Regions from separate parts of the Homo sapiens genome. Here region 2 is linked to region 1. The links are contacts of gene promoters, found by promoter capture Hi-C in blood cells and fetal thymus (Javierre and others, 2016). All regions are on one chromosome and are shown on one strand. The core of a region is centred on a gene start or on the middle of the fragment in contact, and the rest is flanking DNA. Distances in the headings are between cores, read along the strand shown.

The links. The method cuts DNA at HindIII sites, captures the fragments that hold promoters and counts their contacts. A CHiCAGO score of 5 or more calls a contact.
Region 2: a fragment that was not itself captured here is called in contact with the fragment with the promoter of DYNLL2 in region 1 in 1 of 17 cell types (naive B cells); the score reaches 5.0 in naive B cells.

The regions. Positions count from the first base shown.
Region 1 is chr17:58,080,115-58,086,442 of GRCh38, forward strand. DYNLL2 (dynein light chain LC8-type 2) reads left to right here and starts at 3,305. Exons shown (of 3, transcript NM_080677.3): 1 at 3,305-3,569. DYNLL2-DT (DYNLL2 divergent transcript) reads right to left here and starts at 3,090. Exons shown (of 3, transcript NR_110809.1): 1 at 2,602-3,090; 2 at 1-2,502. RefSeq lists an enhancer at 3,034-3,328 and silencers at 3,045-3,394, 3,405-3,464, 3,505-3,924, 3,965-4,094. The HindIII fragment of the contact is 13,862 bases long and covers 1-6,328 here.
Region 2 is chr17:57,119,855-57,125,964 of GRCh38, forward strand. AKAP1 (A-kinase anchoring protein 1) reads left to right here. Exons shown (of 11, transcript NM_003488.4): 11 at 396-1,490. The coding sequence ends at 470. Among named protein-coding and RNA genes, the nearest start is that of AKAP1, 38 kb to the left of the region's middle. The HindIII fragment of the contact is 1,998 bases long and covers 370-2,367 here.

The DNA.
Region 1 (6,328 bases), core at 2,055-4,554:
GAGATGAGCAGTGATGGAGACATGGTGGGTGAGGGAGAGACACAAATCTAGGGTTTCTGGCTTGTGCCTGGGTGGATAATGGGGCCATAAACTGAGATAGGAAATACAGGGAAGGGGAACAAGTCTGGGACAGAGATGTTGGCGATGGCTAACATTTATTAATCACATATATGAACCAGGCACTGTGCCAGGACTTCTTCATGCATTTTCTCTTAACTCCATGAAGTGGATATGATTCTCAATTTATAGATGAGGAAAATGAAATTTGGAAATGTTGAATAGCTTAGCCAAATCTGCACAGCTGGTAGAGTGGTGGAAAAAGGTCAGAATCCATGCATTCTGGCCCACTGCTTTATATGTGTGTATGCGAAGAGTCTGAAGAGCCTGTGGGGCATCCACAGTGGAGAGGTCCAGGCATTAGGGGGTCATCGGGGCCCAGATCATGGTAAAAACCATGAATGTGGGTGAAATTTCTAAGTTGAGCAGTGAAGGAAGCAAAGAGCCCTGGGGAACCCCGAAGTTAAAGAAGTAGCCAGATGGAAAGGGGTCCACCAAAGAGCCAAAAACAATAGTCTGATTTTGATTTTTAAGTCAGAAGACATGACCATGTTATCTGGGCAACAGGAAACTGGGCAATCACAAACAGTGTAGCTGTATCAAATAAAAACATTCACCAAGTTAAGCTAACATATTAATTATAACAGTGACTATGTTGCATAGTAATTATCCTGAACAGTAAGCATTTTACACAAATAGCAGTAATTAGTATATCACAAGTTTCCCAAACTGTGTCCTGTGGAATAGTAGTTCCTGGAGATGTTAATAAATGTTTGGATTAAAAAAAGGGCTTTGGAGTCAGATAAGTTTAAGGAATACTGGTATAATTTAGATAGAGGGCCAAACTCTGTTTTACACTTTCTCTCCTCTTTTCTCTGTTAGGATGCAGTATAGTATAATGGCTAAGATTGTAGGCAGTGGAAACAATCTGGAGTTGAATCCTGCCGCTGACAAACTGGATAATCTTGGGTCAGTTACTGAACTTCTCTAAACTGTAGTTTGCTCATCTGTACAGGGTGATAGTCATATATGCACTTCAAAAGGCAGCTTCTGGGATTAAATGGAACGCATTGCATTTAAAACACTTAGAATAGAGCCTGACATAGAGCAAGGGATTCATGAGGATTACTTATTATTATTTATAAACCATACTATTAACACATCTCCCTGTTATTCTACAGTTTAGTCCTTGACACACACACACACACACACAAGAGCACTGATATTCACATTTCCTAAAAGTGAAAACCCGTGGCTCTGACTTCTGTTAGTTGAAGTTCTTCGTGCCCTTCTGTCCACCACACCACAGCCTGGAAATGAGCAAGCTCTTATCCCTATTATACTTCAGGGAAGGGGAGCAGGGAGAGGGAGGATTTATGCCCTGGCAGCATGGCCTTTGAAGGGCCACTGCTAGCTCATAGTAACCCTTGGGAACACTTGAAAGAAGTCATCTTCTGGTTGGACACTGGCTTGTACCGTGACACACAGGCTAGCAAGCAGTGTGCCGGCTGTATTTTAGCACCCGCTTGCTCCATCGGTTGGATACTCTTGCGCAGTGAATGACCTGTGCAACCATACGTGGCAGATCTGACCTTCAGGCCCTGGAAGGGCCTGGAAACTAAGGACTGTTGGAGAAAGGGGGTACTAGCTTCGCTTTCTCCAGGCAGTCCAGGCGATTAGCCCCGCACAAGCCCTAAGTGTATAAATCATCCTTCCTCGTCTCCCTCCCTTCCTCCCATAGAGGCCACGCCTCCCATTCATGAACACAAAGACTGACATCAGAAAACCCTTAGTGTGAGGGGATACCCCAGGCCTTAACTGGTCTCTGAAATCCCCCAACTGAGGTTGTTAGAGGACAGAACTGTGGAAAGCAGTAACCAGAGGGAATGATTTTTCCAGGTTTCCCCTGACACATAACGAACACTAACTTTTGATGCTTCAAACCAGAGCAGGCCAGGGCCAGGGCAAGTCTGACTTCCTGACCATGGTTTGGAGAGGCGAAGGGGAAAAGATGGGAGTGGGAGCTATCCCCGGCAGCTTCTTAATCCCTACTGTATGGCCAAAATGCTTGGTTCCCAATAAAGGCTCGTCAGCCCTTGAGGTAGACACTTCTGTATAAAACAGACCAGAAAGAAAACCGCAGGCCTGAGGATCTTTCCTGGGAGTGGGATGGAGTGAGGGCAGGCAGGCTCCCAACGCGCACGTTCACACCCACTCTCCCAGAAGTAGTCTCTTGAGCCTCCAGAGGGGCTGCTTCCTGGGTGCACCTCTTTTCAGCTAGAAGCAAGTCAAGCCTGACCTGCGGGATCTGGCAGGGCTCTCTGTACTTGGATTCTCTCCTTTATAAAGTGAGGGGTGTGGATGGGTGGTTTTTGAAGGCTCCTCACAGCTCTGACAGGCACCACCTCTGGGGGCTTCTATTCACTCTCCTCCAACCTTGTCTACCTGGACAGGCAGGGACAGACGACAAGAAATCGCTCACTCTCACCCCCATCCCAGGACCCCAAGGCCATAAATGTGCAAGGACAGCAGAGGCCTGCGTACCAAAGACACATCCCCATCAATTTTGCTTCGGCTCTGTCTCCATTGCTCCTGTAGACAAATACCGGCTGGGGGCCCAGCTGGGAGTTTAGGTCCTTCAGCCTCAAAGAACAAAGGAGGAAGAAGGGACCTTCCCGGAAGGTGAGGGGAGGGAGTCCTGGGGCTCCTATGCCTCTCCCTCTCCATAGGGCTGGCTGTCCCTCTCTTTCTCACAGATACGGGAGGAGGGAGTGTCCTGTCTTTTCCTCTGAGGCTGGTGACTTCATCTCCTCCCCTCTCTAAGGTTGGGGTCTCTACCTCAGCCCCATCTGTTCCCTGGGTCTGAAATCTCCATCCCCCTCTCCCTTTTTTCTCCTTGGGACTGGGGGTCTCCACACCCTTCCCTCTCCTCCTCTCTCAGGACCATGTCTCTTTATTCCTTTTCAGGCCTGGCCTCTCCAGCCCCGGGGGGAGGGGTCCGCATTCCTCTCCTTTCTTAAGGCCACGGCTCCCTCCCCCACCCGCTCCAGCTCCTCCTCCCCACCCCCTCCCTCCGCCCCGAGGCATTGTGGGAGGAAACAAGATGTGGGGCGAGAGCGGCGCGGGGAGAAGCCCGCAGTGCGGGGCCGGGCGGGCTCAGCCAATGGGGAGCGCGGACGGCGGCGCGCGCGGCGGGGGGGCGGGGGCGGGGCACTATTTCAGCGGGGGCCGCGCGTCGGCCGCGCTCAGCGGCAGAGCGGAGCGGAGCTGTGAGGCGCCAGTGCGGAGCGGGCGGGCGGGCGGGCGGCGTGAGGCGGAGCGCGGGCGGCCGGCGAAACTCCAAGGGCGGACCGCGGCAGGGAGCGATCGGCCTCGGGCTGCGGGAGCCGGAGACCGCGGCGGCGGCGGCTGCTGCAGCTGCAGGAGGAGCCCAGGGAACACCGCCCCTGCCTGTGCTCTGCCTCGGGCCATCGCTCCTCCCCAGGGCCCAGTGCGGACTCGCCTCCGTGAAGGTGAGCGGTGGGTGGGGGCGTCCCCCGGGTGGCGGGCCTGTGTCCGTCGCGTGCGACTCTACACGACCCGGCCCTCGCCGCGGTGGCCCTGCGGCCTCCTTAGCCGGCCCCAAGGCCTGGAACAGGGCTGGCCCCGCAGCCCTTGGCGTTGACGGTCCGGGCAGCGCAGCGCGCCCCCGCCGCCCCTCCCTCTCGGCGCAGCCCGGGCTGCGCCACCCTTTGCCCCGGCCACCCTCGTGGCGCTGCTGGAGGCCCGGGCTGCGGAGCTGCCGCTGCCCCCGCCCCCGGGAGTCTCTCTGCGCTGCGTGGAGGCCCCTGATGTCAGGGGCCGGGGAAGAGGGGGTGGAGAGGGCTCGGGCGTGACGCGGCTCCTCCTGCCGCCACCGCCACCCTCTGGGGCGTCCTTCCTGCAGCGAGGACGCCCAGTCACTCCGGCGCTGTTCCAGGCCGGGTGGGGGAGGGCGGCCGACCGGCCGGGGCCTGCGGACCTGGCCGGCGGCGCGGGCGGGAGGTCGGGGGGAAGGAGGATGCTTCCTCGTTCCCCAGGTGCTGCCCTTCGGGACCGCAGCGCTCTGGAGGATGGGATAGTGGAGGGATACGGCCCACTTGGAGAGCCCGAAGAGGGAAGTAGAAGTGTGTGTGTATTGGCGGGTGGGGATGGTGGTCCGTGTCATTCGGAGATTTAGCCTTTTTTTTTGGTTGCAAAACCAGGAATAGAGGATGGGAGCTGTCCTGGGGTGCCCTTTGTGCTTTTCACAGGAGCCTTGGCTCGTGACTGAGGCTGCTGGCCTGGGGCCCTCTGGCCATCTTCCTCCTATCTGGAGGCCCAGGTCCCTTGCTTTTTCCCAAGGAGGGAGGGGCTAGGCTGGACACCTTCCTGTGCTTTGCTTACCGGCACCTTGGACAGGGGTGGTAGGGGTTGGGCTTCACCTCTCTCAGATGCCTGGGGGGCCATTGTAGTCGTAAGACCAATATTATGTAACCGCAGGCTCTTTCCTGGAGAGTAAGGTGGCTTTTAATTACTGTAACAAAGTTGCTCCTTTGGACTTTGGGAATGAGGCAGTGGAGCAGGTGAGCTTGCAGGCAAAATGGTGCCAATTTCATACTTTCACTTTGCTGTCTAACCAGGCCCCACCCCCACCCCTGGGTTTGTAAACAGTGCCCCCTTCTGAGTGGTAACCTGGAATAGGCCACCAGGTGACACTAGTTTTTCTTCACTTATACAGAGCCTTATAATGTAAGAACCTTTCTCCCTGTGCTGCTGTTGTACCTTTGCTCAGACCCATTTGAGTTTACCCCATTTATCTCATTTCAACCATTAGTATTTAAAATGAAGATGTTGATTTGCCCAAGGTCACGTAACTAGTCATTCCTTGAACAGGGTTCTCCGAATCTTTCCTCAGCACCACATGGTGCTCACAGACTCCAGTTGAGGCTCTGACTTTTCCTCTCCAGAATGTGGGGGCAGAGGGTGCTGGTCTACTACCTCTTTGCTCTGCCAGTTTCTGCCGAAGTGGAACCAGCCCTGCTTAGTTTGGCAGTGCTATCTAGATGAAGGGGCCTTGGATGCGGTCAAGGGCTGCCTGGCTGGCAGCTGGCATGTGTGCATTCTCTGCATGTGGTGCAGGCTGAAATGGTGGTGGTGAGTTCTGTTTTCCCTTTCAGCCATCTAGCCCACAGGCTATTGTGAACTCCGAGATCAAGGTGGCCTGGAATGATACCAAGGATATGTCCTTGAGCAGGCAGCCTCCTGTGTAGCCTTCCATCAGATAGAGCTGGAATGACAGCATCTCTTGTCCATTGGGCTGGGCCACAGAGGGGTGCTTTTAGGGGTGGGATGATGGGGGAGATAGTTACTGCTCCATGTGTTGGGACTGTGGTCAAGGACAAAGGGCTCATCCCCTCTGTTCCTGCATAGTACCTCACATGTTGCCACCTGTCAGGCACGTCCTGAGATTCCGCTCGTCCCAAGAAGGGTCCATGCAGGGTCTGCCTGGAACCTGTGGTTGCTATGGCATGAATGGCATGGCCTTGATAGCAGGGATATGAAACAAGGCTATTAAAATCTTTACCTTTCTTAGGCACCTTTTTAAAATGCTTTATCTCCAGGTTTTTCCCAAGCCTCTGTTTTTTTAGGGGAAGGAAGGCTTCAGCATTCCTTTGAGGAAAATAAGATATTGTCTCCTAACATAATACCTTTCACATCACCTAATAGGTCAGTACTTTTTGAATGAATGAATAAGTTTGACATGAGGAAGCAACGCACCAAAGAGATGAGAAATCAGTGTTGAAGCTGGGTCCAAAATCTAGGGCTTTCAAAAATTATATTGGGCTTTAAAGAATGAACATTGTACTGAGGAGAGTGGGGAAGCAGAGGGGAGGATGGGACAGAGAGAGACATGTCCTGTGTGACCGACCAGCCAAGTCTGAGGTTGCCTTCCCACCCTCTCTACCTCTTACGGGCATCTCAGCCTGGAGTACTTGAGAGAAGGCATAATTATCATTATCTCTGCCCCACTGGACATTGGTGGCCTGGAATAGGGCCTGTATAGGGCAGGGGTTGGCAGCATTTTTCTGTGAAGGGCCAGATAGGAAATATTTTTGGCTTTGCAGGCCAAATAGTTTCTTGGAAGTACTCAACTCTGCTATCGTAGCATGTTCCTGCAACACTTTATTTTACAAAAACAGGTGGTAGGCTGGATCTGGCTGATGGACAGTCCCTTGTAGACTGTCCTTGTGTGCAGATGCTCTCATATAAC
Region 2 (6,110 bases), core at 119-2,618, 960 kb before region 1:
CAGTCTTGCTCTTGTTATCCAGGCTGGAGTGCAGTGGCGTGATCTTGGCTCACTGTAACCTCCGCCTCCGGGGTTCAAGCGATTCTGCTTCAGCCTCAGTAACTGGGATTACAGGTGCCTGCCACCACACCTGGCTAATTTTTGTATGTTTAATAGAGACGGGGTTTCACCATGTTGGCCAGGCTGGTCTCGAACTCCTGACCTCAGGTGATCCACCTGCCTCAGCCTCCCAAAATGCTAGGATTACAGGCATGAGCCACTGCGTCTGGCCTACACTGTTACTCTCATACATCTGTTGCCTGCAGTGGCAACCGGGGAGGGGAGAACTCATGTTGGCTAGGGAGATGGCCCCAGGATGCCATGGACAAAAGCTTTAAGGGAACTTTCTTTTCTAGGTGGTGTTGATAAACCGGTCCCTGGTGGAGCGAGGCCTTGCCCAGTGGGTAGACAGCTACTACACAAGCCTTTGACCCCCATGCTGCTTCCTGAGAGTCTTTTTTTGCACTGTTGAAATTGGGCTTGGCACTCAAGTCAAAGATGAACATCGGAATAACAAACATTGTCCTCTCCAGAAAGTCCTTTCTTTCTCCATACTGTAGTCCTATTGAGAAGACATTTCGTCTCTGAGAAAAAAGGATGGAACTATGGGTTCTCTTCGCAAAGCCAAAGGATAGTGTTTAACAAGCCAGCTGGCTTATGCTGGTTCTCAGCTGTTTAAAAAAAAAAAAAAAAAGGAATAGAAACAGTTTCAACCAGATTGTCCTATTCCCCCTGTTCCATTCCCCTCTTCTTCCTTCTATCTCCTTCCCCGGCAAAAACCAAACAAACTGGCAGACAGGCCAGGGATGTATGTTGCTTGCTTGAGAGGGTTTCTTTTACTTCAAAATCTTTCTTCAGGGAGCAAGACATGAACTGACTAATTGGTATCCACTACTTGTACAGCTTACATAAATGAGTTGATGATATTTAACCAGTTTTTATAAACTTCATTTAGGTCTCTAAACACAGACTTTTTAAATTGCAACTGTAAATATGAAATGGTCATCACATCTGACCTTGGTCAGTGGGGAGGGGAACTGGTATCCTGCCAAGCCTGGTTGTAATTTGTAACCATTTTCTATTTGTGCAAACTCTGTAAATATGTGTTTAAACAAATGTAATATTTTGTACAAGATACACTGGAGAACAAAGGGAACTCAAGATTCTTCCAGCCACATGTCACCTGTAGGTAGAAGTAAACTCTGCAGTGCAGCTTCTGCTCTTGGCCCCTCTGGCCAGGGCCCCTGTGGCTTCCTGCACACTGGACAGGTGACTGTATGGTAGAGACTGTGATCTGGGAACTTTTTGCTGTACAAATCTGTTTAAAAAAAAAAAAAAGTAACTCATTGAATTAACTTGCAGTGGTGTGTTTGATTCTTTTTTAGACTGGCTTCAGCATTGTGCAGTTTAAAAATAAGTAAGTAACTTACATAAATCTTCAATTGTATGAACTGCAGCTTTGAGTCCATTTTTTTCCAGTGGTGAAGAATTGGCGGGGGGGGGGTGGTGAGTGTGGCGAGCTGGATCACAGGCCCCACACAACTGCCTCTGCAGGAGACCCATGGTTTTTTGAAGACAATTTGGCCAGAAATTTCTATCTGGCCTTTTCCTCTCTCTCCTTGTCCCACCAGGTGGCAGCCAAGCGTCCTCCGACTTCTTCACTGCATGTTAACTGGCCAGACTCAGTTTAAAGCACTGGCTTCCAAAACGGGTTGTGCCTTCTTTGGTTGTCATTCTTAATAGATTCGTGAAGTTATTTAATTTACTGTAGTGATAAGAATGATGTAAAAAATACATGTAAGTTATGGGATGAGATACTGCCTCAATTTAATAGCCCCTGCTCTTAAAGAAGGCTGGCCACTGCAGCCCAGGCCTACCCCAGTGCCCCGCCCCTGCCCCCTACGTTTGAGGCCTCTGGCTGCAGGGCTGTTGAGCTTGAGCTCTAGTTTTTAGAGAGCTGACGTAGCCTGAGGGTCATTCTGATTGGAGATATCCTCCCACCGCACACCCACTCCTGGGAGCTCCTCCCAGTTCCAACCCAGCTGGCTTGTTCTTTCCGTCTCTGTCCTGGCCAAGCCTGAGCTGTGGCCATTGTCAGGTGCCCATCTTCCCCTCCATCCAGGTTCTCGCCTGTGTGGTTAACAGCCTCTGTTTCCCTCATCTGTAAGATGAGATAACCTCATAAGGCAATTTAATCATGGAAATGCCCTCTGCTTCTACAGTGCTTGGTCCCAGGGAGCTCCCCTGCAGTTCCTTAGCCACTATTGGCTTTAAGTCCTGGCAGGAATTGGGTGTGACTTTGGCCAGGTCACCATACACCCAGGTCTAAGCTTTTCCTCTATAATCCAGCATTGCTGGAGCATGAAAAGGTCTACGGAAGCCTTCCGACTAACTTAGGGAATGCTCACAGAGCCTGGTGTGCAGATTTAGCTTTTATCTCCAGGGAACCATTGAGGGGTTTCAAACATTAAAACATGCTTCTGGTGCAGGGAGAAGGGTGGGTGAGGTGGAGGTGTAGACATGAGAAAAAAGGGATTCCCCTGGGATGGAGCCTGGGACAGACAAGACGTGATGAAGTCAGGATCCTCAGATAAAGCCCCTTGGGCTTTGATGAGTGGGATGGGCTGCTACCCGGGACTCCCACGCCTTAGAGTCCTACCCTGCAAGGGTGCCTCCATTAAACTCGGTTTGGAATGCTGGAGGAAGAGCAAGTTGGAGGCTGGTGAAGGACTTGTACTCCTCGAATAAATGCTTCTCAGATTGTTGCCTTTGATTAATTTCCAGAGTTCTGAAAAACTTGACTTTTAACCATTTTGCCAGAAATCTCATTGTTCTTAAGGAGGAGCAGATTTATGAAGGTCCTCGCTCCATCCCTCTGCAAGTCAGCTGCCCGGGCAAGTGCATTTGAGACGCCCTCTTTTAATTACCTGTGGGGCATCCAGGGGATGTCTTGGTGTGAATTGGAAACTCACGGGAGAAGCCAGTGCTGGCAAGAGATCTGGCAATCTGCCCAGGGTGTAGGGGAGAGGGGTGGAATGCTGGATGCAGGAGGCTAGAGCTTCCACCCTGTTCTCATTATAGGCATTGGTGTCAGTACTGCCCCTCTGGTCTCTGGGGCATCACCATGGAGGCTGGGTTTTAGGGTTACTGCTATACCTTGTACAACTTCAGGTATGCCACTTGTAGACATCAACATCTGTCAGACGATAACTAATGTCAGTTCTAAGATAAAATGAGAGTTGTAGCTAGAGTTAGGGAGTGCTTACTGTGTCAGGTGCTGTCTCTTTTACAGGTAACACTGAGTCCTTGACACAACCCAGGGAGGCAGGGACTCCGTAGATGAGCAGACCCAAGAGGTAGAAGATGGTGATTTTGGAAAGTGGTTCGTGGATAGAGCAGAGCTGAAACTAAAAACCAGGCTGCTACCCCAGGCCAGGTGCTCTTCACCACCACCCCTAAAGCAGCGTGGATTCATCTTGCCCCAGTCCACATCCCCAAATAAATGCCACAGTGATTAAATGATCAGTCCATGGAAAAGCTTTGGAACTTAGAGTGGGAAAGATACCATGACAAGAGAGATCAATGATTTTGCTTTTATGGAAAATTTAAATCTTAAGTAACATAAAGCCAAGAGACACCTGCAGCAGCTAGGGCCAGAGAGTGGACGTTTTGAATCCGTGATAACGTAAAACAAGGAAAACTGGCCAGGCACGGTGGATCGCGCCTGTAATCCCAGCATTTCAGGAGGCTGAATTGGGTGGATCACTTGAGGCCAGGAGTTCGAGACCAGCCAGGCCAACATAGCAAAAACCCCATCTCTACAAGAAAAATGACATGGTGGCACGCACCTGTAATCCCAGCTACTTGGGAAGCTGAGACAGGAGAATCGCTGGAACCTAGAAGGCGGAGGTTGCAGTGAGCTGAGATCACACCACTGGACTCCAGCCTGGGTGACAGAGCCAGACTGTCTCAAAAAATCAAAACAAAGAAAAAACCCAAGACAAATCTCTAAGTTTCCATTGGGAAATATCATAAAGGATGTGGATGGAAAATCTGGGTCTGTTCCTAGACCAGCAGTGGCCAATAGAAATATGTGAGCCACATCTGTAATTTAAAACTTTCTAGGAGCCACAGTTAAAAAGTGCAAAGAAACAGATGAAATTAATTTTCATAATACTTTAAGTCATATCATTTCAGCATGTAATGGATATGAAACATTAAGGAGTTGTTTTACAGTGTTTTTCCTACTAAGTCCAGTGTGCATTTGACACTTCAGCATATCTCTGTTCAGGCCGGCCACATTTCAAGGGCATGATAGCCACGTGTGGCTTGTGGCTATCACGTTGGACAGTGTAGGCCTGGACTATTCCATTGATCACTATCACACTGATACTGACAGCCTTATTTATGTTCTTCCTTATTCAAAAAGTTGTATGTCCTTTTGCACATTTATTTTTCCAGATGAACTTTAGAATCATTTTGCAGGGAAGGGGGCCATACTAAATATTCTATTGGTATTTGAAAATAATGCACGCTATTGAGTTGGTATAAAGTTTTATATAATCTATGAAGTTGGGTGTGTAAAATATTTGAATTTATTGTTTTCCTTTCTCGCCCTCTCCTTCCCTGGTTTTTTTTTTTTTTTTAAATACAGGGTCTCGATCTGCTGCCCAGACTGGAGTGCAGTGGTGCAGTCAGCTCATTGCAGCCTCGAACTCCCTGACTCAAGCAATCCTCCCTCCTCAGCCTCCTGAGCAGCTGGGAGCACAGGCGCATGCCACCACACCGAACTAATTTGTTTTTTCATTGTTTTTGTAGAGATGAGGTCTTGCCATGTTGCCCAGGCTGGTCTTGATCTCCTGGCCTCAAGCGATCTCCGCTGCCTCAGCCCCCAAAGTGCTGGGATTACAGACACAAGACACTGCACCCAGCCCTGAAATTGTTGTCAGAGCATGTATGAGACCTTGTACATCAACATATTTTTTTGTAGTTTGGCTGGGCATCTCTGGTAGACTGGATGTCTCCTTGCCAAAAATTCTGTCTTCCTCACGGTAGGATTGTACATCCTACTGTGTTTTGTTGGACTCAGGCATGGACTCATCCTGGTCAGTGGAAGATGGGTAAAGGTGGCACAAGTCACCAAGGCAGATGCCTTGAGCCAGTATGTGGTTCGCTTGTCTTCTCCCTCTGCACCAGCGTCAGCTACATGCCAGGTAGATACCCATCCACCCACCTGGGTCCCAGTGTGAAGATAACGTGGAACAGGGCTGCAGCCAGCTCTCAATGGGTGTGTGGTTTGTGAAACATCTCACATGAGCCTCTGAGGTTTGGGGCTTGTGTGTTCCCCATGGCCTGTCATTCTAGGGTCCCACACCTTTCCTCCAAGGGCTCAGAGCTCTGGCCATAGAAGCTGCCAGGGTACCATGTTCTTATGCCTGACTGGGGACAAGCTCCTCGCCCTCTCTTCTCATAACCCCCTCTGTAAACAGTGGGGGTGAATTAGGTGAGTGCTGACATGCTTGCCAGGTTTGACTTTTGACTGATCTGTGAATAAGAGCCTTCCTGAAGATTCCTCTTAATGAGGCTGACTTGTATTTTTACAAAGCAAATCATCTAAGAGAGATCTTGGCTGTTTCTTGTTAGAAATAGGCCCAACTGACATCTGGTGGGGACAGACGGTATTTGAGAAGCCCTGATGCTCTGGGCAAGGAAGGCGGATACCTCCTACCTGGAGCTGGGATGGATTTCTTGTCTTTCACCAGCCTCCCTGGCTTGGTGACAGGCAGGAGCTCTGACTGCTCCCACTGATTTCTTTCTCTCCATTGAGCACCTGCTGTATGCCAAGCATCCTGCTGGGGGCTTCAAAGATGAAACAAACATTGAGCCTTTAGGGAGCTTCTCTGTTTTGGGAGTGGGGTTTGATGATCTCGGTGCAGATGGTGCTTTCCTGAGTGGGTGCCTTCTCCCACTTTGTAATGGGATCCTGGCAATTGCTGGTGAGGTAGGAAGGAAACTGAGGCTTCAAATCAGCAGAGCCAGACTTGAACCGGGTCTTCTGCACTCCAGACTCT